Linked DNA regions of Homo sapiens: regions 1, 2, 3, 4, 5 and 7 are each linked to region 6. The links are contacts of gene promoters, found by promoter capture Hi-C in human tissues and cell types (Jung and others, 2019). All regions are on one chromosome and are shown on one strand. The core of a region is centred on a gene start or on the middle of the fragment in contact, and the rest is flanking DNA. Distances in the headings are between cores, read along the strand shown. Region 1 overlaps LOC124901922 (a long non-coding RNA gene). Region 2 overlaps KIF13B (kinesin family member 13B). Region 3 overlaps KIF13B (kinesin family member 13B). Region 4 overlaps KIF13B (kinesin family member 13B). Region 5 has its middle 48 kb from the start of DUSP4. Region 6 holds the start of DCTN6 (dynactin subunit 6). Region 7 overlaps PPP2CB (protein phosphatase 2 catalytic subunit beta).

Region 1 (4,039 bases), core at 372-2,871, 840 kb after region 6:
TCAATTCTTAGAGCGTGCTGGTCATCCAATGCAAGGTAAGGTTCTATCATTCTTCCCTGTTCATAGATGTGCCGGGTGGCAGCACAGAGCCATCTGCAGACACCTAGCAAACAGACACAAAAAAGAGTAAGTATAGCGGCCAACACCCAAATGTGTATGTATTGTTGTACCTGAGCGAGTTAGAGAAAACGCCACACTTGGAGACGAATTAAGAGTCCGTTTATTTAGCCAGCGGCCAAGAGACGGCTAACGCTCAAAGTGCTCTTGGCCCCGAAGAAGGAGCTAGATTTTCTTTTATACTTTGGTTTAGAAAGGGGAGGGGGGGGTCTAGTTAAAACAATTTTACAGAAGTAAAGTAGGCAAAAAGTTAAAAGGATAAGTGGTTACAGGAAAGTAAACAGTTCCAGGTGCAGGGGCTTTAAGACTATTACAAGGTGATAGACCCGGGGCTTTGGGCGTTATCAATCGGACGAATTCCTGGGAACTGTGGATATAGCTTGCCACAGTATCTTATCAGTTAATTGCATTCTTGAATGTGCTGGGAGTCAGCTTGCACAAGGTAAGTCCTTGAGGAAGGGGCTGCCAGTGTAAGAGCCAAGATGGAGTCTGTCTGGCTCTCTTAGCTAAGGGAGAGTCAATTCAGGTGGAAACAAGGCTAGGTGATTAAAGGAAAGGGAGAGTCTAAAAACAGGGTTAGTAAAAACCAGGTTGGGCATTACAGTATCACCCAGACAACCAAGTGTTCATGTTTAACCACAAAGCCCTCTTGTAATTGCTGAAGGGTATTTGCTTGTAATTGCTGCGACCATTCTTCAAGTTGTTTCTTTAACTCACATTCAAGAGTAGAAATTTGAGAAGAAATACGGTTGTGATAAGCCCCTTGCAGGTGTGCTTTCACTCTCTCCCAAGCATATTGGGAGCTATTATATGGCAGAGGTGTGACACAGATAGGATTATATTGCCAATCACAATGTAAATTTTGATGGGTAATGAATGCCTGCTGCTGACCCCCCAGCCATTCAACTGCGGCTTCAAGAGCCTCCAGGTGAGACAGAATAGTTTTATCAATATTTACCTGTTCCTGAAATTCATGGGTTACATTATATACCATGTGGTTCACCACTGAGGCTATGTGAATAGATCCTGTTAGAGAGACAGCTGCAGTAGCAGCAGTTGCTAGTATGATAATAGCTGAGACTAAAAAGTCAATTAAAGTGGCCAGAAATCTTTTTTTCTGAGCATGAGACAGTGCTTTTCTAAATAGCTGCTGGGTGGAATTTCCTTCCCAGCTCCAGGTTAAATTTACAGGCAGCCACATTTCTGCATGCCGTTTTAAGATCATGACGTAGGTTATACTTAACTGTGTAACGTTTTGATAAGACAAGCATGTAGCATACCAAGTACTGGAAGAGACTTTAATACTATAAAAGGTCTGATTCTGTTTTATGTTAGGAACACCTCGCCCAAACAAAAGTATATAGGGGTGCATAGTACAAATCAGGACTGTGTCAGTAACATTATTATGCAAAGAGAGGGTATAGGTGCTGCCCTTAGTAATGTACTCACCATGTGAAAGAACTCATTCAAAAAAAAAAGGAAGTCCTAATCTCCAAATCTGGGTATGAACAGGGCTTAAAGCTTGTTTCCCTTTTAGTTGTAATATTGGTCCTGAAAGCCCATACTCTGACCAGGTGATAGAACTATTGGAGGGACTCCCAAACCCAATATAGTCTGATTTGCAGACGTAAGATAACCATGGGGACCCCAATCAAGTAAGGTGCCATTATTAAACAGAGGCCCTTGACATGGTGCAGATTGTCTGCATGGAGACCACTGGACAGCCTCAAACTTATATCACCAGTCCCCACTCGGACGGCATATAGGAAGATCAGGCACTTGTACAGCTTCATGAGAGACCTTAGTAAGATTAGTAGTAACAGCAGAAATAAAGGTCAAGTTTGCAAGCTTAGCATCCCTTTTAGGCTGATAGTTAAGATACTCCTGAGGAATGAGAGTAACACACTTACCATGTGCTATTGTGGAAAAACAAAGAGGGGATTACTAAACAATAAAATCAAGGAGTCATTAAGTTTAATCCATCCCAAATTTTCAGTTAAGGGGTATGACAGGGACACCTATCGACCTCCTGTCCAAGAAGTATCATTAGATAACAAAGGCAGGTCAGCATCCCACTGTGTAATAACATTAAAAACAAGGGGATTTAGAATATGACTCCAATAAACATGTTCTTGAGCTGATCTCACTTGGCAAAGGACAAGAATTACCAACCAGCCCAACATCTGTGTCTGTCTTACTTTTCTCAGAAGTTTCCCCAATTACCGCCAGTTACATAAGAAACTGATTCTCTGCAGTTGCAGGGGCCTCCACAGCGGCAAGCCGGATAGTTGCCTGTTGGTCCAATTTCTTTAGCGGTCCCCAGGTAATGTCAGGTGCCTTCTGAGTCATCACCGTCATTGTCAGTCAATTCTCCAATGACAGGTCCTATTCTAGAGAAGAGAGCCCCATATTCCCCCTTTTTTGTTTGTTTGATGAGTTTGTTTAATAACTGGTTGAGTTATAAGGAATACCAGTTTTGTGTTGTATGTGCCAAAGTTGCAATACATGTGCAAATCGAGCACTAAGATAGCAAGGTCTATTATCAGTTTTAATAGTTTGTGGAAGACCTAAAGTCATAAGAGATTCAAAAAGATGAGCAATTGCATCTTCAGTTTATTTCTCCAGTCCAGGGGGTAGCATGTATTAAGCCTGTATAAGCGTCTACGGTAACTTGGAGAAATTTGAAACGTCCAAAGGATGGATACTGAGTAACATCAGTTTGCCAAATAACATTAGGCACCAGACCTCGTGGGTTGGTACCAAGCCCTAAGGAAAAGGGGGAAAGAGAATGTCATTGGCAATCAGGACAAGTTTTAATAATCATGAGAGCTTGAGCAAGTGTCAAATGAAACTGTTGTTTAAGACTGTGGGCGTTCTAATGAAAAAAAAAACAATGATCAGCTTGAGCTTGCAAAAAGGCAGGAGACTCTGCAAACCACATCTGTGTTTGTACCAGAGCATCAGCTCGAAGGTTCCCTTCTGATAAGGACTAGATAGCCCAGAATGAGAGCAAATATGTGTGATGTAAAGAGGGTGATGACAGGCACAGAGGAGCTCTTGTGCTGTAAGAAACAAAGCTAGTAGGGTTTCATTAGTAATGCCCTTCGCATGTGCAAGATCTAAATCAGTAATACTACACCACATAAGAGGAATCACTTTATCATCATATTTATGTCATGGTGAGGAAAAGTTTGTAAGGCCAATATGAGGGCACCTAACTCCGCCTGTTGCGTAGTTTTAAAACGTTCCTGGATTTTGTGCTGCCAGTTCTGCGTGGCATCTTGCCACACTATAGTTGCCTTTCCAGTTTTTCCTGAACCATCTGTAAAGACAGAAGTGGCGTGAAGCAAGGGCTCAGAGACAACATAAATACAAATTTAACAGGCACAGTTTGTAAAAAGTTCAGGAGTTTAGAGGCTGGTCAATGAAAGCTGATATTACCAATAAAGTCAGTCATTGCTACTTGCCAATCAAGATCACAAGCTAGGAGAGTATGAAATTGTTTCTTGTTTAACAGTAGGAAAAGAGTAGTGGGGTTATTTTGGCCATATGCCCAGTTAGGCCACAATTATAATACGTGGCCCCAGTCAACATTGCAGCAAAGGTCTGAGCCAGATGGGTTGTAGTGCCTATATTCTGGCACACTTTAATAAACACGCTGATTTCAGTGGCAGTGGCTCGGACTGGAGTTATTGCTGCCTGACAATCCTTATTTGCATTTTCAAAAGCCAATTACAACATAAGAAGTTTGGCAGCTTTAGGATAGGGTGCCTGTTTTTTTATTGCAGCCTGCAATCAGTTGATAAATTCAATGTATGTTTCTGTGGCACCCTGTTTAACTATCATAAAGGAACCCTGGGATTGTCTTATGGGTATTTTTTATGCTTGTATTGTTAGCTGTGAGCATTGAGGAAATAGACGG
Region 2 (4,159 bases), core at 1,106-3,605, 930 kb after region 6:
TGGCATTGGACCAAGACTTTATGCCTTGCCATTTCCAGAAGCTTTACTTAGGGTTTCAGATTCTGCTTTCATCATTCTGCCCCATATCAGACCCCTTGCAGGTGCTGATTCAGGTCTTCTTGGCCTCACCTCTCCTTGGAGCCTTTGATCACTTTTCAACCCTGGCTGTTGCCAGCTCAGTCTGGGCTCACGCCAGCTTCACGTGCTCATAATCTGACACTTCCTCATGCTCACTCCCTTCCCTCCTTGCCTGGGATACACTCCCACAGAAGCCTTGGTCTTTGCTTTCTGAGGAATCCACACTAAGACGTCCTCTCGCATGCCCTTGTCTGTGTCCTCAGGGATTCTCTTGCTGTGTGTTGAGCTGGCTGTCCGTTGACCTGGCCTTTTTGGGCCTGTCTGGTCCCTTTGCCCCCCAGAACTTGGTATGGATAGTAAGGAACTGAACTTAAATATTAGGAAGAGGATAGGCCAATTTATAGATTGGGTTAATTTTTAAATTGATCAACCCCGTAAGCAGTAGCAAAGCTGCAGAACAGAGGTGCTGCGAGGGAGTTTAATGATTACCACTGTGTCTGGGGATGGGAAAGGCAAGAGTTGGTTGAAGAGAAGCATGACTCAGACTTGGGTGTGAGTGCTGGGCCTACTGTTTACCAGCTGTGTAAATCTGGAAGTTTATATCACCTCCCTGAGCCTCTGTTTCCTTTTCTATGAAGTGGAGGTGATAACACTGTGATATGGATCATGCAAGATTACCGTGGGCATGAGTGAGTTATTTATGTAAAATGTCTGGTACATGGTACCTACTTAGTAGGTGGTAGCTGCTATTTTGCCTTGATTTATTTATTCTTGTCAACTCTCTTAAACAAATTTTATTTATTAAAACATCATATTTTAAGTAATATTCTTTTCAAATAACACTGGCATATATGGTAGGTACTCAATAAATATTAACTGGGTTAGACATGTAGTCAATTATAATACCAGGTTTCTAATAACAAATGATGCCCTTTTGCTTTTAATTGACAATAATCATAGCTGTTTAAGCTGTAGATCTAAGTGTAGTTTCTTGATGCCCCAGATAGCAACTGTAAGATGTTTATTTAAGGGATTGTGGGTTTCCTCTGAAGAGCATCAATTTGCATAATATTGCTCAGAGTTGGTTTCTTGAACTATCATTATCATAAGAAAAGGAACTCCGTGGTCAAGGTCTTTGAATGCTTAGAAGGTGTCAGTAATGCAGACACAGCCAGCACAGCATTCTTGGAAATACAAGAAGTGAATAGAGACTTTAGTTTGTGGATCTTCTCATTGATGACAACCAGCATTTATTTATAGGCATTAGTATTGTTTATATTGTGTTAGATCCTTTGCAAGAGTATAAGTTCTCATGACATCTTACAACAAACGATATAGGCATCACATTGTTATCTCAACATTTTCAGAAGGGAAATGAGACTCAAAGGTGTTACAAGGCTTCCCAGGGTCACATGATCAGAAAGTGGCAGAACAGGGATCTGAACTCAGATCTGCCTAAGCTCGTCTCTCCAAAACTAGATGAGCTCACAGCTTCTCATTGCCTTCTAAGATTTTACAGAAGAGTTTCTTCTCTAAACATTTGGAAAAATGTAACTGGTTAATTCAGATTAGATCAGAACTAAAGACATTCAGCAGTTATTGATTGACATCTGATACACATCACTCCAGAAGGGTGTCCTGATAAGGGAAAGATAAATATGACATGCTTTTTTTTTTTTTTTTTTTTTTTAAAGCTGACATTCTGGAGTTAGGAAAAACCCACATACAGCTAAGTGTGTATCATATTCATTAATTCATTCAACAACCATAGAGTGCCCTCTGTGTGTTTATCAGGATGTTGACCCTAAGAAAACACTGATAAACAAAAGAGAATTTGGTTCCAGCCTTCATGGTCCTTATTAGTCTTGTGGGAGTGTTATGAACTGATCTAAGCCGTTTTGGTCATTTGTAACAAGATATTAACAACCTTCTATGTTTAGAGTTAGGTGAGAGCCTGAGGCCTTCTCCTGCCCAATCACACCACCAGGAGATGTGTTACAATGAAACTTTGACTGGGTTCTGCTGCATCTTTATTAGCAAGCAGCCACAGCATTGGTCATGCCACCTGTTCCTGTAAGCTCAGTGAAGCCACAGCTCTCAGACAAGCACCTTCCCCAGAAGTTTCCCTTGAGACAGATGTAGCAGGATTCAGGTACTCTTTTGATCAAAATTATGCAATAGAATCTGAATTCAAGTCTGGATAGAGCCCTAGCTAATGACAGGGAACAGGATGCTAGGTTTGTTAGTCTTATACTTTGCTGTCCTAAGAATGGAGGAACCTGTATCTCATATATATATATATATATTTTTTTAAGATGGAGTCTGGCTCTGTCACCCAGGCTGGAGTGCAGTGGCGCGATCTTGGCTCACTGGAAGCTCCGCATCCTGGGTTCACGCTATTCTCTTGCCTCAGCCTCCTGAGTAGCTGGGATTACAGGCGCCCGCCACCATGTCCGGCTAATTTCTCTATTTTTTTTGGTAGAGACAGGGTTTCACCGTGTTAGCCAGGATGGTCTCGACCTCCTGACCTTGTGATCCACCTGCCTCGGACTCCCAAAGTGCTGAGATTACAGGCGTGAGCCACTGAGCCCGGCCCATATTTTTAGTCATTATTTTAGTCACACTTTCAACACTATGCACTTTACCAGTGAAAAATTATTTCTAACATTTCTTTTGCTAATTAACAAGCCCTCCAGTTCATGCCCAATGATGTACTTTGAAAGGAAAAAAAAAAACCAAATTATAAAAAAAATTTCCAGTGTTGATCAGGAAAGAAAGGTAGCTGAAGGCGCTAAACACAGCTTCTAGAGCAGACTTAAAAAAAATTTTTTTTAAAGTCTTGCTCTATTGCTCAGGCTAGAATGCAGTGGCACTATCATGGCTCATCATGTACTTGAACTCCTGGGTTCAAGTGATCCTCCCACCTCAGCCTCCTGAGTAGCTGGGGCTACAGGCGTGCACCACCATGCCCAGCTAATTTTTCAAGTTTTTTGTAGATTTTTGGGTCCTTCTATGTTGTCCAGGCTGGTCTTGAATTCCTGGCCTCAAGTGATCCTGCCACCTTTGCCTCCCAAAGCCCTGGGATTACAGGCGTGAGCCGCTGCTGCCAGCCTGGAGCAGAAATTCGCAACCTTTTGTTGGTCATGAACCCTTTGACAGTCTGATAAATCATGTGGACTCCTTCTCAGAATAATCTTTCAAAAACATAAAATACATAGGATTATCAAGGAAACCAGATACGTATTGAAATATACCTAGGTCAGGAGTTCAAGACCAGCCTGTCCAACATGGTGAAACCCCATCTCTACTAAAAATACAAAAATTAGCCGGGTGTGGTGGTGGGCACCTGTAATCCCAAGTACTTGGGTGGCTGAGGCAGGAAAATCACTTGAACCCAGGAGGCAGAGGTTGCAGTGAGCTGAGATCATGACATTGCACTCCAGTCTGGGCAACAAGTGCAAAACTCCATCTCAAAAAATAAAAAATAAAGTGTAAACCACTGTAGCAGTTAGTATAAAATGCTTTTTATTAATAAGTGGCAGAAAATATTAAATATTTCATAACTTGAGATGAGGATTGACTATAATTGAAATAAGTATTTTATGTTGTGATTTAATAAAAATAGGTTAACTACCTTATTGAATCCTTATTGAATAAGGTACATCAAAAGCCTGAAAGAAATGGTATAAAAATGTATCTGTGCATATAGCTGATGCATCCTAAAAGAGTAATTGGTCATCCTTCTTTAGCTATTTCAAAGTACTTTGCCTTCCAATTAATGGCCTGTCTTAGGGGTGAGTATTAACCCATTTATGCCTGAGGTTGCAATTTTTGCAGTCAGACCTTGGTGATGACCTTGAGCAGAATATAAATAAATTAAGAACAGATGAAAATAATTGCTTCCATTTTCCAACTTGGAAATCTACACTTTAGCTACAATTAACAACGAAACTTAAACAGAAGCTATTTGCTAAGAAATTATATCTTAAATCAGACCATTAGTCTGTCAAAATGAAAGTGAAAATTTAAAATATGGAAGTGAAACATGGGATGCAGAGAAGAACACATGTCAGAGACCACG
Region 3 (3,716 bases), core at 115-2,614, 1.0 Mb after region 6:
TACTTCTAGGCAGGATATATTGGCTGAGTTGCAGTGATTGTATAAATTACGATGGCATGCCTAGAAATAGCAAAATTGTGAAACTTTATTTTAATTATGCTGCGAACTTACTTTGTGGCTGTAGTTAAATGACTTAGTTTGTCTTGCCTTTCCCCAGAATCAGAGGTCTTGGGTGATTGACTCATTGCTACTTGCTATTTACCCATAGTCGAAGATACCCTCTCCAGCCCCGACTGTACCCTAACTACAGAGCATCTGGTTGTGAGATCCATGCCCATATCCTTACGATGTACAGATGTTCATATATTGTATGGGTTCAGAGGCAGGCACAAAAAAGGAAAGGCCCGTGTTATGAAAATAACGCTTGAGTGCATATGCAAATTTGTTTGTTTTTGGATAAATTCACCACACTGATGTTTTGAGTGCTCACCATGTGTCCTTCACTGTGCTAAGTGCTGGGAACACAACAGTATATAAGATAGGATCCATACCCACACAGCACACAGTCCTGTGTGAGAGAAATGGCCCGGTGAACAGTTACGAAGTAGAACACGTCTGCTCCAGATAGAAAAAAGAGGTATAAAATCTTTTCAGCTAACGAGAACACAGAGAACGTTTGTTTTGTTTGTTTGTTTTTTGTTTTTTTTTGGGGGGGGGTTTTGAGATGGAGTCTTTCTCTGTCGCCCAGGCTGGAGTACAATGGCATGATCTCGGCTCACCACAACCTCCACCTCCCGGGTTCAAGTGATTCTCCTGCCTCACCTTCCCGAGTAGCTGGGATTACAGGCACCTGCTGCCACAGCTGGCTAATTTTTATATTTTTAGTAGAGATGGGGTTTCACCAGGCTGGTCTTGAACGCCTGACCTCAAGTGATCTGCCTGCCTTGGCCTCCCACAGTGCTGGGATTACAGGCATGAGCCACCACACCCAGCCCAGAGAACATTCTTAGCACTCTCAAGGACCTGGAACTTGTTTCATGCAGTGCTGGGTTTGACAGGAGTGAGAAGACATGAAGCCAGAGGGGAAGCAGGCCAGGTTGAAGGGCCTTGTGATCCTTACTGAGGGAGTTTGGCCTTTATCCTGATGGGGAGGTCACTGAAGATGTCAAGCAGGAGAGTTTATTGATCCTCCTTTGCTTTTAAGAAGGATCCCGGTTGAGGAAAGTGCACACACTTTTGCTTTTATATATACAGAGTTAAATGAGATGAATTCAAGACATCAGATATTTTCAAGAATGAAAACTGAGAATCACTAGTACAATTAGTTACTATATGTAATAGACTTTATTTTTCAAAATAAAATTAGAATTAACAAAAAAATCATATAGTTTGGAAAGAGAAAAATGCAATAAATCTATAATGCCATAGCCTAAGAGAATGTATTTGAATTACAACACTATTGAATAATTGTAACATTGTAATGTAAACGCTTGGATATCTCACTGCCTCAATAGCTGTGAAATTAATACTTCTCTGATAACATTTACAGGAACGACAGAAACAGCTTGAGAGTCTTGGAATATCTCTTCAGTCTTCGGGAATCAAAGTTGGGGATGATAAATGCTTCCTTGTGAATCTGAATGCTGACCCAGCTCTGAATGAGCTTCTGGTGTACTATTTAAAGGTGAAGTAATGTGCTTTGCTACTAGATTCTTGTTACAAAATAGGACAATATTTCACAGTACTTTAGTAAACTTGGGGAACCATGCTTACTCAGAAAACAGCAAAAAGTTATAGAACCATCTTGGGTTTCTGGACTCAGTTTTCTTTTTTAGTCTTTGATGCCATTCAACCTGACAATATAAAAAAATGATACTCTGATATTATTTCCAACAAGTCAAATACCTTACCTACCATTATTTAACGTGATTTGTATCAGGGAATTAAGTAGATAACTTTAAAAATGGATGACTTTGAAGACTAAATGATTCATTTAGTAAGTATACGAAAGCTTTTATGGTTTATGTGAAGCACATTCTTTTGTGAGCAGTGTGTTAGCTCACAAGAAAAAAATGTATAAATAAAGTTCTTAGGACCAGTTGGTATGAAATTTATGTTTCCAGTAACTCTTAGGAAAAATTAAAAATTTGGGTTATCAATCTATTAAAAGAGAGAGAGTATAGGTTATTTAGAGACTCAGTGAGTCAGAGCACAGAACAGAAAAGAAGACAAATATTGGTATCCACTGAAATCTATAAATCATGGGATATATTAGTAAGATAAGAGACAACTTCAGAATAAGTCTGAACCCTGAGACACCACACAGATTCGAGGAGTGCCCAGAATGGGCTGTGTCAAGCCCAGAGCACAAATTACTTATCATATATGATGGACTACACGACTCTAACACAGAGTTGATAACTGTTGGCACACAGTTTCTTTCCCCTCACATGTGTGGGTTTAATGAACATGACCAGGAAAGTAAAGCTAACAGGCTGACTATGTGGGAAACAGCTCTAAGAGAATTGTGTGGTTTCATTTCAGAAAAGCCTGGAGAGATCCTGGGTCAGTGACTCTGTGTCATTTTGAGAAGCCCTGTTGTTAATAAGTATCTTATATGATGTATTGTCATGCTGTGAGTTAGGCTGTGTCTTTGATGCATACCTTCATATGTGCATGTCTCAAGTGTTGTGGTTCAGTGGCGGCAAAGCTGGGGTAGGAGGGAGTGACCTGTCTCTCTAGTCTACGGCCAAGCCCTTTGCCCCCTCTAGTCTAATTCCTTTGTAAATGGAGGGAAGGTCTCTGGCTACTTTGCCAGGTTCCTGTGAGGGTTGGAGATACAGAAGTACTTCGTAAACAGAAGCACTATACAAATAGAAAAGATCCCACATTCCACTTTTTTGTTTGATACCTGTATGGTTTCTTATACACATATTATCCTTGCCTATTAAAAAATGATATATTATTGGCTGGGCGTGGTGGCTCACACCTGTAATCCCAGCACTTTGGGAGGCTGAGGCGGGCAGATCACTTGAGGTCAGGAGTTCAAGACCAGCCTGGCCAACATGATGAAACTCCGTCTCTACTAAAAATATAAAAATTAGCCGGGGTGGTGGTACATGCCTGTAGTCCCAGCTACTTGAGAGGTTGAGGCAGGCCAATCGCTTGAACCTAAGAGGTGGAGGTTGCAGTGAGCTGAGATCATGCCACTGCATCCCAGCCTGGGCAACAGAGCAAGACTCTGTTTCAAAAAAAAAATGTATTATCACATTACTTACTTTGCTTCTGAACAGTGCTGGTAGCATTCTGAGTTAGGATGTCAGCTGGGGATATTCATATGAATGTGACCGGGAAAGTAAAGCTAACGAGCTGACTACGTGGGAAGAGATGCGATGTTAGAATAGGACCTAAATATTCTGTCCTTTTCTCAGAACCAGACATTCTTTTTCTTTGCATTGTACTGTAGTTCAAATTGGTACACACAAACACACATATCAAGAAAAAACTCTGATTCATATCTGCTCCTTAACTAAAAACGTAAACAAAGAAGCTGTTTAAAGATGTTTGGAGAGTCATCAAAGTTTCTGGTCATCTTGTGTGGAGGTGTTTGGGTTGTGTTTCAGACTGTGTGGCCAGCCCTGTTTGGCCAAGTCTGAGGCAGTGTTGATTTCTTGATCGCCCAAGCTAACCCCACAGCAAGCATATCTTCAAGACAAAGCACATTCAAAAGGATGATCTCAGTCCAAGAACAGTTTTATGGTGGAATTTGGAGGCTG
Region 4 (4,073 bases), core at 512-3,011, 950 kb after region 6:
CGTGAAACTTTTGGAAATTGAATTTTCACTCAAGGAAGTTAAGGAAATCTTCGCTAAGCAGTCAATTTTGGGAGTAATTATAGTGAATTTCAGTTTCTCTCAACCTGCTGGCTGACTTAACCCCAAGACATTGCATCATGAGACAGAATCACAATAATGATGGCATCTAACATTTATCAAGCATGCGTCAGCATACGTGTGCCATGCACTTCAAGTATGCCTTTTGTTTTTCTTTTCAATTTTTTCATAGAGACAAGGTCTCACTATGTTGGCCAGGCTGGTCTGGAACTCCTGGGCTCAAGCGATCCTCCCGCCTTGGCCTCCGAAAGTGCTGGGATTACAGACATAAGCCACCATGCCCCTATCCCCAGCCTCTTTTTTTGTGGGGGGAATTAGTTAATTTCATTTTTTTTTTAAAAGGTGGGGTCTTGCTCTGTTATCCCGACTAGAGTTCAGTGGCACAATCATAGCTCACTGCAAGTGCAAGCTCATCAGTTCAAGTGATCCTCCCAGTTCAGCCTCCCAAGTATTGAGGACCACAAGTGCATGCCACTATTCCCTACTGAGTTTTGTATTTTTTTTTTTTTGGTAGAAATGGAGTTTTGCTATGTTATGCAGGCTGGTCTTGAACTCCTGGGATCAAGTGATCCTCCCGCCTCAGCCTCCCAGAGTGTTGGGATTACAGGTGTGAGCCACCACGCCTGGCCTCTTTTTAATTTGAAGTACCAAGCTTTCCAACTTAGATCTAAACTCTAGACCTACCACTGGTTATAGTGAAGACAAAGGCTTTAGGTTTAATTTGATTTCATAGCTATTAATTCTAATGACATTACTGCTGCGAGGGACATTTGAATTTGGGATTCCTTGTTTAGCCTAGCTGGGATTAGGTTTTGGAATCTTAAAGCAGATTGTATTATGTAATGGGGTGTGTAGAATCTGTAATATAGCCCTGACACGATTGTGATGGCTCTGTCTGTTAGATTCTTAGGACTTGGATTTGGAAGTGTTCTCCTTATTTTCCTATGAATTTGTGAGTCGGTGTTTTTCTTCAAGTCTGAAGAAAAGAAAACTCTTTTCTGTTTTCTCTTAATAGGAGGAATTTGAAACTGCAGGGGCCTAGTAGGAGGTGGTAGTTGTTCAGATCTACCTGTTGCTGCTGTGTGGGAACTTAAGCCTAGCATTTCCAAGTCTTCTGAATTTTCAAGAGAATTTGAAAATCCAGATTTTCTAATGTGATGTCTTCTAATTTTCTACTTTTGATCAATACAGTGAGGCCTGAACAAAATGCTTGTGGACCTTTTTTTTAAAAAAACTTTTTTGGTGACAGGGTCTTGCTCTGTCACCCAGGCTGAGTGCAGTGGTGTGATCATAGCTCACTACAGCCTCCATCTCCTGGGCTGAAGCGATCCTCCTGCCTTTGCCTCCCAACATACTGAGATTACAGGTGTGAGCCACTGTGCCCAGTCGGGCCTGTAGACCTTGAGTGTGTGGCCTCTGGTTCGGAGATATAGGTGTAGAAAAGGTGAAGGGCTGGGGGGAAATTAGTTAATTTCATATTCAGTGAACATTTTCCCCAGATCAATCTAATCAAGCAGAAATTCAGTCATATTAATCTGATCAAGAAACACGATGGAAAATAGGGATTAAATTGAAAACCACAAATACTGAGAGAAATAAAAATTAGAAGCTTTCTTTGCTTGTAGTCTAAGAATATCTTAATCCGCCTTTTTTTTTTTTGGTCTGTGGCCGAAGGCCAGATGTCTGGCCCAGGGCCTCAGCTCAGTAATGTATTCTAATCTCTGTATATAGAATACCTTGAAGTTATTTGAATTTGCCATGATTAAAATGAGTGTGTATTACCCTGTGAATGTGGGATATGAAATATACTTCATCAAAAACCCTCCACAAATGAGTCAGTATTCTTTGGCCAGATTTAAACTTTCTTTTTATTTTTCTTTAAAATTTTTATAGAGATGGGGGTCTTGCAGTGTTGGTCCTGAACTGCTGGACTCAAGCAATCCTCCCACCTCAGCCTCCTGAATAGCTGGACTGCAGGCCCACACCACTGTACCTGGCTAGATTTAAGCTTTCTTATAGTGAAAGTGGACGATGAAATGAAACTCATTCTGCCGGTGTGTTTCACAGATGAGAAAAGACAAGTGATTTGCAAGTGATTGAGTTAATACTGAGTGTATTCTTTGAATTATGCTATCCCAGTATATGACAGTTTGAAATTATGGAATTTATATATCAGAGTCTTCATATTTCTAAAGTCCTATGATTATGAAATATACTAGTTGTGGTTCAGTGGCCATATTGCTTGGATGTCCCTCTGTTCTCAACCAGTTGTTGTTTGTGTGGGTGGAAGATTCGAATAGAATGGGGTTGTCAAACTTTTTTCTACATTTAAATAAGTTTTCTCCAAGGACTGCAAATTACCAGTATCTACCAACTGTCCTGAGTGGGATTGGACACAGGAGATGTCTAACTGCTCTTTTCAAACAACCTTCCTTTTCTAGGTCTCCTCCTACCTTCTGGGGTAATTGGCACCAGTTTCAGTCTTTTCTTGTATTCTGTGGATGCATTTTCTATCTTTTTTTTTTTTTTTTTTTTTTGAGACGGAACTCCCTCTGTCACCCAGGCTGGAGTGCAGTGGTGTGATCTCGGCTCACCACAACCTCCGCCTCCCGGCTTCAAGCAATTTTCCTGCCTTAGCCTCCTGAGTAGCTGGGATTACAGGCATGCACCACAATGCCCGGCTAATTTATTTTGTATTTTTAGTAGAGACAGGGTTTCACCATATTGGCCAGGCTGGTCTCGAACTCCTGACCTTGTGATCCGCCTGCCTCAGCCTCCCAAAGTGCTGGGATTACAGGCGTGAGCCACCGCACCTGGCGCATTTTCTGTCTTAATGTCGTGTGTTTCAGTTGTAAATATCTCCAAGTTTCATTGAACATGGAAACATTGTTTTCTTTATTGTTTTGGACATGATTTTAGAGACAGAGGATGGTGGTGGAAGTGGTTTTATTTTCCCCATAATACTTCTTCGAGAGTAACATAGGCTGTTTAAGAAAGATAGTGTCTAGGGAACTCATGATTAAACTGAGAAATTTAATCATGAGTTTAATAAATGAATAAGTGAAGTTTAATAAATGAATAGGAGTTAGCCTGTAGAGTCCAAGACAGAAATAGTCATGTATGAAAGCCCTGAGACTGAAAGATTGGTACCTGGGTCAGTCCCACATGGGTGAAAGGAAGACCAGTAAAAGATGTAGTTGGAGATAGAGAAAGGGGCCAGATCACCTGAACAGCTTAAGAAATATTTGCAGAATAAGCAAAAAGCCTTGTGTTGGACATTCCCGTAAAGGAAGAACACTTTGTCCTTCAGAAGCTTATGGTCTAGCCGAGATGACATGTAAAAGTTTATTCTATCATGAGACAAACCGAGTGGTCCTACATAAGCAGTAGAAACAGTTTCGGCTTTATGTAGGAATTGGGGAAGGAAATCACTTTTGTATAGGGTTCAAGTGGATGGATGCTTGAGGGAGATAAAGTGTGATCTGAGCCTTTCTCTTGTAGGTGGGCCTTAAGCAAGCAGAATTGCTAGGGGGAATGGTGTTACCTAAGTTAGGTATATGGAGGACAGGGGAGTGACGTAGCTGAGTTGGGGGAGATGACGCCTGAGCCTCCAGTGGTCCACAGGTGGCACTGATAGGGATGTTGGAGGCTCACTGCTCCTTTTCTTATTGTCAGTGAAAAGAGTTGAACAGTGAATCTAAGGCAGCTTCACATTCCTTGTGCCAGTTCCCAGCAGATGCTTTCTGCTCTCCGCTTAGACATTCCACTGCTAGGGGAACTGGCTGTCTCTTGAAACAGTGTTAATTATTCTTATACTAAAGAAATAACCCACTTCCTATAATCCCAGCACTTTGGGAGGCTGAGGTAGGCAGATCACCTGAGGTCTGGAGTTCGAGACAGCCTGGCCAACATGGTGAAACGCTGCCTCTACTAAAAGTACAAAAATTAGCTGGGCATGGTGGTGGGTGCCTGTAGTCCCAGCTACTTGGGAGGCT
Region 5 (4,154 bases), core at 195-2,694, 760 kb after region 6:
GATATCACAGACCATTCATTGGTCATATCTGACTTAACCTCAATATGAAATTGGCCCAGAAAGAGATAATTTCTTTTTAAAGAATCTGCCAGCCTGAATCCATAGCTTGATATTCTGAATATTCTGAATATTTTTTATTTAGCATCCTTCAACAAATAGAGCTACAATTTTTTAGCTGTCTTGAGGTAGGCAAATATCTGTTTTTGGTGTTGTTTGTTGTTGTTGTTTGAGACAGAGTCTCCCTCTGTTGCCCAGATTGGAGTGCAGTGGTGCAATCTCAGCTCACTGCAATCTCTGCTTCCCAGGTTCAAGTGATTCTCCTGCCTCAGCCTCCCGAGTAGCTGGGACTATACGCGTGCACCACCACACCTGGCTAATTTTTCTATTTTTGTAGAGACGGGGTTTCACCAGGTTGGCCAGGCTGGTCTCGAACTACTGACCTCAAGTGATCCACCTACCTCGGCCTCCCAAAGTGTTGGAATTACAGGCATGAGCCACTGTGCCTGGCCGAGGTAGGTAAATATCTGATTCCCGCAGTACAGGAGATTCTCTAAGATCCCCTCAGAAAGTAGACTTTTCCTAATCTGGATGGATTGAGGTCAAGCTTTTCCAGAAAAGAAGTGGTCACAGTCAACCATACCAACCATAGGATCTTCCGTGGCCCACTGCTGATGGAGAAGTTCCAACCTTGAACAAGGTCATCTGCAACCCTTCACTGCCAGTTGATATCCACTCAACACTCCCTCCAAAGAAAGAAACATTCAGCTTATTTTACTGCTTTATATCCCTTAAGGTAAACTCCCTTTGGAAGGCTAAAGGAAATCCAGGGATGCCACAAGCAGAAGCAATGCAAAGCGTATTGTTTAGCACTATTTGAAGGTGCAGTCCCCCAGTACATCACACAAAGTATTGATAGCATTTGCGAGAATTGGGCTCACTTTCCTTTTTATCACTATTTGGGAAAGTAAACCCATGAAAGGCAAGGCTTTGGAGTCAAATAGATGAGGACCCAATTCCTGGTGCAGCCAATTATTTAACTGAGACTTTGGGCAAGATTTTTAATCTCTTTAAGTTTCTATTTCCTCATCCATGAAATAAGGATAATAACGCCTTCCTTATAGAGTTTTTGTGAGGTATAAATGAGAGGATATAAAAAAAATTAACCCAGTGCATACTACGTGGTGCACTGAACAACTCTTATCTGTTATCATTGTCCACATATTGTGGAAAAAAGGGTGCCTGTCTCGTAGGTGAGTAAACACTACTCAAAGTTTCCAGGGACTCAAACTCTTATATTCTATGCCTCTGGGCTCTAAAGCAGTTGACTTTTTAGAGCCAGCAAAGTAACAGCTGGTATCTTGGGCTCCATCTAGTTCTATCCTAAACTCCTATACCCCACATCCCATAAGAGAGCTAGCAATACATTCACATAAAGGAATGAATTTTATCATTTAGGATTTAAGTGGATCACGGGTAAGCTGTCGTTAAGAGTACTCTGAACAAATAAAAAGTTGTTGGTTTTAACATCTTTTTCTAAAACCCCAAACAGCCTGGGAAGCTTTGCAAAGAGAATGCAGGGATTTAAAAAAAAATCCCATTGGTCGCATTTAAAAATCAAGGGCTACTAACATCAGCTGCCATCTTCCCCAGACACAAAGAGGGCATCTCAGCCCCTAAAGGACTGAGCAAGTGACTTCAGGGGACTTGGGAGTTCCCACTCTCTCTTTTCTACATCTTTGTGCTGAAGGTCTCAAGGTCACAGAATTTATAACTTTTTAAAATGACAAACAAAGCACATTTCCTATATTCCACAGCAGTGAAAAATGTCAGCATATAAGGCACTTGTGTTCAAAATGAACATTTTCCCACCGATATAAAGAGAGAGCAAGGCACATTGGCTAAATTCCAACTTGCTTGATATGTTCTGTAAATTCTTCCACTCTGTTCCTGAAAGGAGTCCATGAGAATATGTACTATACTCCCACAGCTTTTCCCTTTTTCCCTGTACCTTCATTCCCACCCCACCCCTACCAAATAACAATAACTAAGAAAAAAAATTAAGATGTCTTGCATTTGTGTGATCGGTTTTTGTTTAAGTAGGTTATATCCTGTTTATTTTATGAGTAGAGAAATTAGAATGAAGTAATTCAGGTCATTTATACGAGGCATTGTTGTACTGAAAAATATAAAGACTATAGGACCAAAAGTTAAGTTCTACCTTCAATATTTCAATGTAAATTGAATGACTTAAGGACACACACACACAAGCCAAAAAAAACCAGTATATCTAATCCCAGTAAAAATTTCTTTTTAATAGAAATTAACATGAATCTATAAGCTATGAGTCAGCTACCTGTAGGAAACCTGTTGAGAAGGCACAACCGGTACAAGGGAGAAGGGGCAGAATCCCAGGTGATTCCTCCATTAGGAGCCAGTGACATCCCAGCGTCATATCCCTTGGTAGTGTGACCGTACAATCCATTTGCCAGGTACAATCATGGCTTATGCCTGCAGCCCCAATTTAAAGAAGGACCCCTCCTTCACCCTACTGATGGGGAACATTATAAAGGTGTCGAACGTTCCATAGGGGGGTGACAGAGAGAGGATTTGTTTCTCAGTGCAGACAAAATATAGGTGAGTTGATATTGCGCAGAGAATGATGAAAGGCATGAACAGCAATAGAGCAGAGCTAATGTTGCACAGGAAAGGGTCTAGGAGGGTTACTGTCCCACAGGGCCATCATAGCATGTTATAACCCTTTGCCCTTTGAACTCTGTGTGTTTTGTGCTTTGGGCATTTACAGCATTCTCTGTCATACTTGTAGCTTTGTGTCTGTATCCACACAGAGAGTATTTCTTCTAATAAGATGCAGATTCCTTATGGAAGAGATAATCCTTTTTTTTCTTTAGTATCCTTCACCCCACAGTGACAGGAAGAGGTTTGTATGCAGAGAAGCAGGTAATAAGCTATTATGTCTCCCATCAGAATGTTGTAATTGAGGTTGTTCACTGCCTACCATTTCATACTGGTGTCTGGGCACAGAAGCCAACCGCATTTCCCAGACTCCCTTATGGTTCAGAGTGTCATGTGACTCAGTTCTCACCCAACAGACTGTGAATGGAAATGACATGTGTCACTTCTAGGCTTGAGCGTTAGAAAGTGGCCATGCCTTTTCTGAATTATTTTGTCTTTCCTACCAGCAAACCTACTCACCACCCAAGCTTCAACCATGTAGCAATGACAAGACCATAGTTGATGGTGGAGTAACCCAGTAGAAGGAAACTGGGTCCTTGATAGCTGGTGTGGAGCAGAGCTGCCTGCCAACTGGAGTGTCTCTTTGGACTATTATATGAGAGAGGAACACAGTTCTAACTTTAACCACCAAATTATTGCTGAGTCTCAATTACTATAGCTAACCCTAAACCAACTCAGAGAAATACGAACTCCAATAGGTCAGGGATCTTACCTGCCTTGTTTATACCTGGCAGAAATAGGCATTAACAACTATTTGTTGAACTAATAAATGAAATCGCCCCCCAGAAATGTGAATGAGGAAAAATTTATGGATGAGACTAATAGGCCCTTCCTAGATGTCACTAGGAAACTTACGTAAAATGGAAACATTGCTAAGCACATTATTAGCTTAGAATTGTAATTTTTAATTGTGAAAATAAAATAATATGATGAAGTTGAGTATTGAAGGGAAAAATCTGGACGTACTGATTGGCCCATTCTTCTCCAACACCATTAATAGGAGACAGTCCCTGACCCAGTCTGCTTGACATATATAGCTGTGTAGAGAAGAGAATGAAGGATAAACCTAGCACAGATTGATGAAAACATGCTAATATTATCCAACTCTTTTTGTTCTGCTTATGATTTCACTGAGTGATCTTCCCATATTCTTTGATTTTCTAAGCAAACTTTCCCATTAGAAGATGAAGAAAAAAAGAAGCACTTATTCACCACTGCATATCAGATCAATTGTTACCTATATTCATGTATCGGTTAGGATCAACTAGGTTCTGTTGCAATAACAAAAATTCTAAAATCTACATGCTATACTGGAATAAAGTTTTAATTACTGCTAATGCTTACATGTCCATTATAGGTTCATGAGTAGGCAGTCTATGCTCATTGTAATGATCCAGGGA
Region 6 (4,225 bases), core at 1,399-3,898:
TGAGGTCAGGAGTTCGAGATCAGCCTGGCCAACATGGTGAAACCCCATCTCTACTAAAAATACAAAAATTAGCCAGGTGTGGTGGTGGGTGCCTGTAGTCCCAGCTACTCTGGAGACTGAGGCAGGATGATCGCTTGAACCCAGGAGGCAAAGGTTGCAGTGAGCAGAGATTGTGCCACTGCACTCCAGCCTAGGCAACAGAGTGAGACTCCGTCTCAAAAAAAAAAAAAAAAAAAAAGGAACCAGGCATGGTGCAAAGCTTTCACTGCACTCCAGCCTGAGCGACTCTGTCTCACAAAAAAAAAAAAAAAAAAAGTCAATCTACTGAAATAACAGAAAATATGTAGCCCTCCTGCTGTATTGAAGAAGAAAGATTTTAGTAAGATTAGAAGAAAATCACCTGGTCTAACCCTCTCATATTATAGAAGAAAAAACTGAAATTCAGAGACTAGAAATTTCTTGGAGCAGAGTTCATTCCTGGGGCATCACTGTCCTGAAATCAGTCATCTGTCTTCTAGTTGAAAGTTTTCTGGAAACATCCTGTCACTCCAGATGTTTTTCCATGATAAATGAGCGACACTGTCCTTGAATGTATCACCAGCTGTAAATGTCATTTCTCTGATACTTTTCATTTAAAGTGGGTTTTTTTTGTTAAAATATGCAATTTTATTAAGCCCTGGTCAAATACATTAGCCTCTATAAAATGTCTCTTGTTTTAGACCTTATTTCTCATTGCAATTTTCCATTTCCTCAGCTTCCTTCTCATTATGAAAAGAGCATTATCTAACATTGAACTTGTCCTGGGCAACTGAGAGTAGGAGAGACTCACAAATGCCCCCTGCCTTCAGTTTTACGCCCAAGGGAGAGATCCCAGGTAATGCTTGCGTCACAATCAGCACACTTCTCAGTGGGGCAGGCCACTAGGCCAACTAAAACGTGGTCCCGATATCTCTGCAAGGACCCCTTGTATCTCGGAGTGGTGGGAGCAGAGAGGTGAGCCGGCAGATGGGAGGGCAAGACTTAACCTCAGATCTGTAAAAGTAACAAGTCAACAATACCTTAATCTTCACTGTAAGCTACTATCTACTGCTATCTACTGCACATAATATTTATAGTACATCTGTTCCTCTTTAGCTTATGAAAAAAGATTACAGAGTATCTACTTAAATGGAAGAAAAATCTACATTTTAATTTATGGCACCAGAAACAATGTCAGTTTTCTTTGTCAAAAATAGTCAGCAGAGGGAGCTCAACACTGCTGCTGTTCGAAATGGCTTTACTTATGCACTTGTCTCATCCCAGCCACCAACAGCCACCAACAGCCCCCAGCAATGAAGACTACCGGAGAAGAAGCCAAACTTCCTGTCCCCACATGTTTACAAAGGAGCTTGTCCACTCCACGCCTGGCAAAAAATGTCACAGTTCTAAGCTTATACACTATTGGTGGGAATATAAATTAGTTCATCTATTGAAAATAGTATGGTGATTTCTCAAAGGACTAAACACAAGTACCATTGGACCCAGCAATCCATATAGAGCTACCAATCCAAACGGAACTACCATTCGACCCAGGATCTACTCAAAGGAAACCATTGTATTAAAAAGACAACTGCACTCCTATGACTATCACTGTACTATTCACAATAGCAAAGTATGGAATCAACCTAAGTGTTCATCAACGGATGACTGGATAAAGGAAATGTGGTGTATCTATACGATGGAATACTACAGAGCCATCAAAAAGAAAGGAAACATGTCTTTTGCAACAACATGGATGGAACTGGAGGCCATTACCTTACGCGATAACTCAGAAATAAAATCAAATGCACATGTTCTCACTTTTAAGTGGGAGCTAAAATGAGTACACATAAACATAAAGAGGGAAATAACAGACACTGGGGACTCTAAAAGCAGCGAGGGTAGGAGGGGTTTGAGGGCTGAAAAATTACCCATCTGATACAATGTTCACTATTTGGGTGGTAAGTACACTAGAAGCCAACTTCACCATTACGCAATTTATCTATGCAACAAATCTGCGCAAGTACTCCTTGCATCTATATAATGTGTGTGTGTGTGTGTCACAGTTCAAGTCCAGGCGCGGCCCCCCTTTTGACAGCGACCGTAAATCCCTTTACACACCCCACCCTCCAGAGACAGGAAGGGCCTGGGGTGCGGCCAGCACTGGCGTGGGGGTCTCGCAACATGCAGCAGAGAATCCAGCGCCAAGCCGTGGGGTACAGCGGCGCCAAGCACCGCCGATTATGCGGGAGAAGGGAGCCGGCCTTCCCCAGGAAAAAGCTGACGTCACCCTCCCCTCACAGCCCCCCCCGCCCTCCCGGCCGGGAGACCCCCTCTGCGCAGGCGCATGTGGGGAGGGACGGCCAGACAGGAACAAAAACCTTCCAGGCAGCGACTCCGCGTCCCTTCTCAACCCTCCCCGCCCCCACTCCGTCGCCCCCTCCCTCAGTGGACGCCAGGTCTGGGCTTCAGGTACCTTCGGCCCGAATGCCCAGGATGAGACACCTTCTGAGTCGCCACCATTGGCGACCAGGAACAGGTTCCACCCCTACGGAAAGCTGAGAAAAGGCTTTTCTCAAGCAGCAAACCCACCTCTTTTGAGTCTTCTCCGCCATGGTACGGCCCCAATTGGAACGTAGATCGACACCACCGCCTGGGTAGAGCGATAATTCCACATGCGATTGGAGAGCCTGGCAGGGTTGGGGGAGGGGCGGAGCCGGGGTGGGGCGGGGACCCGGAAGCTTGCGACTCTTGTTTGCGTCGCGTCTGGGCGCACAGGACTGTACTTTTGGTAGCGGTGCGGGGCCGCCCGCGGACTTTAGCCCTGCATAGAGATGGGTAGACCCTAATTTGGAACAGCCATTGACTGGGCACAGGCCAGCACTTTGGGAGGCCGAGAGGCCGAGGCAGGAGGATCGCTTGAGGCCAGGAGTGCCAGACTGCGAGACTAGCCTGGGTAACATAGTGAGACCCTCTCTTCAAAAAAAAAAAAAAAAAAAAAAAAAAAAAGCCTGTCACGGTGGCCTGCGCCTGTACCCCAGCTACTCGAGAGGATCGCCTGAGCCCAGTGAAGCTGCAGCGAGCTGTGAGGATGCCACCGCACTCCGGCCTGGGCTAAAAAGCTAGATCGTGTCTCTGATAAAAGAATAAAAGCTGTTTATTGCAATCCAGTCCGCGTCATTATGCCCTCATTTTACCCACTCGCGTAGGCGTAATTACACCCTAAAGGTATTTCTCTGACCTCGCCGATGTCCTTTTCAGCCTGTCTTTCTCTACTCATTAGGGCTCCTTCTGGCCCTTTTCTCGCTCTATATGAGTGCATCCTTCCTATAGGTTAAGTGCCCTCTACCTGTTTGCTCTCTAATGAATGTCTCTGGTTCTGCCCTCTGTGCCGATCTTCACACCTGACATTCGGTTGACTAATTGACATCTCCGCTCAGAGTCGTATCGAACCTAAAACTTACAGAACATGACTTTCGATTAACACTGCCGTCCTCCCTGCAACCTGCTGCTTTTTTGATCCACACCATTTGCCTAGCTGCTCAAGCCAGACACTCAAGAGTCACCCTGGCACTCCTCACCCCTACATCTGTAATAGATCTGCAAGTTCTGCTTGTCCTACCTCGGGTCTCATGCTTACACTTTTGTCTACCGGACCATCTCTCTAATCTCAGCCGATGTGTCTCTCCCAGTTGTTCACTCATTCTGTACTTGGCCTCTGAAATCACACCTCCTCATCTCCCACCCCCAACCCTGATCCAAGTAGTTCTCTTGTAGTCAAAATCATCCTTTAAAAGACAAATTGAGGCCAGGCGCGTGGCTCAAACCGGTAATCCCAGCACTTTGGGGGGCCGAGATGGGAGGATCGCTTGAGGCCAGGAGTTGGAGACCAGCCTGGTCAACACAGCATGATCCCGTCTCTATATATTTTTTCTATAATGTATTTTTTTAATGGAAAAAAATTAAAAATAAGAGCCAAATTCAGTTATTTCCCCTTCCTCTTAAAATCTAAAATCCAAACTGCTTTCCATAACCTATCTCTGAGCTACATCCAGCCCCTGCCTACTTCTCTCTTTCTCTTTCTATGTGTTCGATCACACCCTCATTCTCCAAAAAAGCAAAGCTGACTCTCCACCCCCAACCGCTTCCACTTGCCCCCACCCTAACACCTTCTGACCCTTTATGTCTCGGATGTCACATACTCAGT
Region 7 (3,596 bases), core at 226-2,725, 650 kb before region 6:
TTACAGCTTAAAAAATAAAAATAGTGGTCTTGACAGGCAAAATGCCTAACTGGTACTTCCATTTTTAATTTCCCTCGAACAAAAATTAGTGCCAGCTTTGGTGGTCCATTGATAAAATCTAAAATGCAGTGATAAAATAGCTCCTTTCTTAGTATAATGAAGAATGGCATGATTACAGTGAAATAGAGGGTCAAGACCCAATTCTAGTGACTGAACAAATCATTGTTTTCCTTGCTAAGCCAGCCTCTTAGTGGACAGGTAAAGAAATTAAACCAAACTAGACTAGCATGAACTATTGCTAATGGCGGGAAAGTGGACTTTGTTACATTTCTCTACTTTATATATGACGTGTCAAATATATATGACTAGGTAAATATATTTAATACTTAATACTGCCCTTTAACAATAATATACCCTTGCCATAAGATATTTACCTAAGTAGATAAAGTGAAGATATTTGCAATGTAAAATTTCTTTTCATTGCCTGCTTTTATTGCCGTGTGTGCCTTTTATTCTTATTTGAAGATCTTGCAGAAATTTTTTCTTCACAGTCTTTTCTCTTCAGTACGAATGTTATAAAAGACTTGGTGAATGAAGCCCTTCCTTGGTAAAAGGAAATGAAAATGCCAGAAATTGAAGATGGAATTAATGCTTAATTAATTTTCCTAGATTGTTTTCTGAATGTAGTTTTTTCTAAGAAGAATGATATTAAAGTTACAGAAGTAATCTGTATAAGAAATCTGAGTCTGTGTTAAATAGAAATTTTTTATTGTTTTGAACTGATTTCCTTCAAGTAAATGTAATGAAATGTAAACCTAATCCAGATTGTTTAAAGAAACTTGTATGAAGACATCTTTTCTTCCTTAATGACCAAATGTGATCTAATAGTTCCTGTACGTTACTTTTCAACTCTAAATTTCATTAATAATCATATTAACGGCCGGGCATGGTGGTTCGCGCCTGTAATCCCAGCACTTTGGGAGGCCAAGGCAGGCGGATCATGAGGTCAGGAGATCCAGACCATCCTGGCTAACATGGTGAAACCCCGTCTCCACTAAAAATACAAAAAAAAAAAAATCAGCCAGGCGTGGTGGCAGGCGCCTGTAGGCCCAGCTACTCGGGAGGCTGAGGCAAGAGGATGGCGTGAACCCAGGAGGCAGAGCTTGCAGTGAGCCGAGATCGCGCCACTGCATTCCAGCCTGGGTGACAGAGGGAGACTCCATCTCAAAAAAAAAAAAAAAAAAATCATATTAACCCTGGGAAGGAGTTCTGTGTATTACAGATTCCGTTTCCTTTCCAGAGAATGGGAGAGCTCAAGCACTCAAGCTTAGAACTGGTTTGCTGTTGTGTCCTTTGTAATTTAGAAATATTTATCATCATTCCTTGTAAACTGTTTTTTGACTGAGATACTTTTGTGATCAAATGAATTAAAAGACAATCCTGAGGTGCAACCTGAGATTCCTGACTTGCGTTATAATAGCATCATGTTACACCAAAAATGTGGAAGACTCCATTGGAGATCTATTAAGTGAATATTTTATACAAAGACAATCGTTTTTATGTTGAGACTGGGATACAGTGGTGAATTTAAGTGTTCTCACCTATTCAATCTTAGAAAAAAGCTTATTTGAATTAACTTTTTAGCATAGTTGGATTTTTTTTAATATGCAGGATACGGTGTGTAGGCTGTAGTTTAATTTTGCTCAAAATCTCTTTTTTTTTGTTTTTTTGTGATGGAGTCTCTCTCTCTGTCATCCAGGCTGGAGTGCAGTGGTGCCATCTCGGTTCACTGCAAGCTCCGCCTACCGGGTTCATGCCATTCACCTGCCCCAGCCTCCCGAGTAGCTGGGACTACAGGTGCCTGCCACCACTCCCGGCTAATTTTTTGTGTTTTTAATAGAGATGGAGTTTCACCATGTGAGCCAGGATGGTCTCGGATCTCCTGACCTTGTGACCTGCCTGCCTCAGCCTCCCAAAGTGCTGGGATTGCAGGCGTGAGCCACTGCGCCCAGCTCAAAATCCCATCTTATAGAGAGGGAAATAATTTTCATCTTCGTTTAAAAGAGTTCCGCATGATATTTATGTCCTGGATGATGAGAGCTCAGAATTGGTTCAGTGTATTCTCGACTTGGCTTGAGTAGCAAAAGAGGCGCTTGTTCCTGTGGGCAGTGAAGAAGAAAGGAGAGGATTGGTTGACAGAATGCTGCCACTGTGTAGTTATCCCGTACATTCAACAGATTTTAGTTGAACCACTATGTACCAGACTGTTCAAAGTGCTAGAGATTCAGCTGTGAAGAGGGGACACGATTAATGAACACCAGGCATTGATTCTTGCTGGCAAGAAAAAGCAGAAGATGGGGACAGTGATGGGCTTGAATTCAAGAGACTCTTTTTTTTTTAATAGGGTGGTCATAGAAAACCTTCCAAATTCTTTATAATGTGGTTTACTTTTGTAATTAAAAAGGATTTTGCGAGAGTTAGAAGGCACAGTCCCTAACACTGTTCTCACCTCTGACACCATCTTCAAAAGTTTAGTCATGATGTACCTTCAGAACAGCAGACAAAAAATAAAGTTCAGTGAACTATAAATTACAGGGAACACTGCCCAGGACTGCCTCAGTTTTGGCACCAATATACTAGTTCAGTGGGTTCCGAAAACCACTCTTAGGTTCAGTGATTCACAGGAATGACTCACAGAACTCACTTTAAGCTGTTACACTGATGATTATGGTTTATTACAGGGAATGAATACAATTTAAAGTAAGCCAAGGGAAAAGACTCATAAGGGCAGAGTACAAGAGGGGCTGACATCTGTAGTGTCCAGTCCTCCAGAGACCAAACTGATAGTGGGATCATCCAAAGTCCGCATCGTGAGTCACATTGTTAATGGTCCGCAGGTCAGAGCCCCCAGGCAGAGATCTCTTTACCAAGCAGGAAATTCCAGGGGCAAAGGCCAGACCTCTCCTCGGGTGAGGTTAATTCTTCACTATACAGATTTTTATTCCATAGCAAATTCTGAGGGACGAGAACCTTAATAATAATAAATGGCAATACCAAAATACATGAAGAAAACAAGGCTAGATTTATCAGAATTGTGGAGTGTGTGCAATGTGAGGGATTTTTCCAGTTGAGTTGGCATATTCTTTTTTTGTTTTAAGTTTGTATTTTGTCAACTGGGCACAGTGGCTTATGCCTGTAATCTCAGCACTTTAGGAGGCCGAGGCGGGCGGATCACGAGGTCAGGGGTTTGAGACCAGTCTGGCCAACGTGGTGAAACCCCATCTCTACTAAAAATACAGAAATTAGCTGGGTGTGGTGGCACGCGCCTGTAATCCCAGCTACTTGGGAGGCTAAGGCAGGAGAATCACTTGAATCCAGGAGGCGGAGGTTGCAGTGAGCTGAGATGGAGATCGCGCCACTGCACTCCAGCCTGGACGACAGAGCAGGACTCCGTCTCAAAAAAAAAAAAAAATTGTATTTTGTCTTTTCTTGGTTGTATAAATTCTCCAAAAGTTAGCCATTTAAAAATGTTTAAGGTCTTATTTTCTACTTTGTGATATGTGTGTATAATTTTTACTGTGCAAGTTTTAGCATTT

What was found. The method cuts DNA at HindIII sites, captures the fragments that hold promoters and counts their contacts. A contact is called where the count stands out against the background at its distance.
Region 1: a contact is called between a fragment that was not itself captured here and the fragment with the promoter of DCTN6 in region 6, in 4 of the 25 tissues and cell types used here (aorta, dorsolateral prefrontal cortex, mesenchymal stem cells and 1 more).
Region 2: a fragment that was not itself captured here is called in contact with the fragment with the promoter of DCTN6 in region 6 in 2 of the 25 tissues and cell types used here (dorsolateral prefrontal cortex and spleen).
Region 3: a contact is called between a fragment that was not itself captured here and the fragment with the promoter of DCTN6 in region 6, in 1 of the 25 tissues and cell types used here (hippocampus).
Region 4: a fragment that was not itself captured here is called in contact with the fragment with the promoter of DCTN6 in region 6 in 1 of the 25 tissues and cell types used here (dorsolateral prefrontal cortex).
Region 5: a fragment that was not itself captured here is called in contact with the fragment with the promoter of DCTN6 in region 6 in 1 of the 25 tissues and cell types used here (lymphoblastoid cells).
Region 7: a contact is called between a fragment that was not itself captured here and the fragment with the promoter of DCTN6 in region 6, in 1 of the 25 tissues and cell types used here (hippocampus).

Annotation. Positions count from the first base shown.
Region 1 is chr8:29,316,231-29,320,269 of GRCh38, reverse strand. It overlaps LOC124901922 (a long non-coding RNA gene), which reads left to right. Exons shown (of 3, transcript XR_007060874.1): 1 at 1-35. Among named protein-coding and RNA genes, the nearest start is that of DUSP4, 32 kb to the left of the region's middle. The HindIII fragment of the contact is 3,690 bases long and covers 1-3,466 here.
Region 2 is chr8:29,226,698-29,230,856 of GRCh38, reverse strand. The region is part of intron 2 of KIF13B (kinesin family member 13B); the gene reads left to right. Among named protein-coding and RNA genes, the nearest start is that of KIF13B, 34 kb to the left of the region's middle. RefSeq lists enhancers at 510-669, 1,346-1,395. The HindIII fragment of the contact is 5,379 bases long and covers 1-4,159 here.
Region 3 is chr8:29,158,641-29,162,356 of GRCh38, reverse strand. KIF13B (kinesin family member 13B) reads left to right here. Exons shown (of 40, transcript NM_015254.4): 13 at 1,490-1,624. Among named protein-coding and RNA genes, the nearest start is that of KIF13B, 100 kb to the left of the region's middle. The HindIII fragment of the contact is 4,467 bases long and covers 1-3,597 here.
Region 4 is chr8:29,202,435-29,206,507 of GRCh38, reverse strand. The region is part of intron 2 of KIF13B (kinesin family member 13B); the gene reads left to right. Among named protein-coding and RNA genes, the nearest start is that of KIF13B, 59 kb to the left of the region's middle. RefSeq lists a silencer at 398-551. The HindIII fragment of the contact is 4,434 bases long and covers 1-3,978 here.
Region 5 is chr8:29,396,790-29,400,943 of GRCh38, reverse strand. No RefSeq gene overlaps it. Among named protein-coding and RNA genes, the nearest start is that of DUSP4, 48 kb to the right of the region's middle. The HindIII fragment of the contact is 5,026 bases long and covers 1-3,957 here.
Region 6 is chr8:30,154,792-30,159,016 of GRCh38, reverse strand. DCTN6 (dynactin subunit 6) reads right to left here and starts at 2,648. Exons shown (of 7, transcript NM_006571.4): 1 at 2,611-2,648. The coding sequence starts at 2,633. It overlaps DCTN6-DT (DCTN6 divergent transcript), which reads left to right and starts at 2,357. Exons shown (of 1, transcript NR_186490.1): 1 at 2,357-3,188. LOC124901927 (a long non-coding RNA gene) reads left to right here and starts at 907. Exons shown (of 2, transcript XR_007060880.1): 1 at 907-993; 2 at 1,135-1,845. RefSeq lists a silencer at 2,278-2,387 and enhancers at 2,448-2,597, 2,541-3,523, 3,348-3,557. The HindIII fragment of the contact is 3,226 bases long and covers 845-4,070 here.
Region 7 is chr8:30,803,696-30,807,291 of GRCh38, reverse strand. All of the region lies in intron 1 of PPP2CB (protein phosphatase 2 catalytic subunit beta), which reads left to right. Among named protein-coding and RNA genes, the nearest start is that of PPP2CB, 7.3 kb to the left of the region's middle. The HindIII fragment of the contact is 4,399 bases long and covers 1-3,596 here.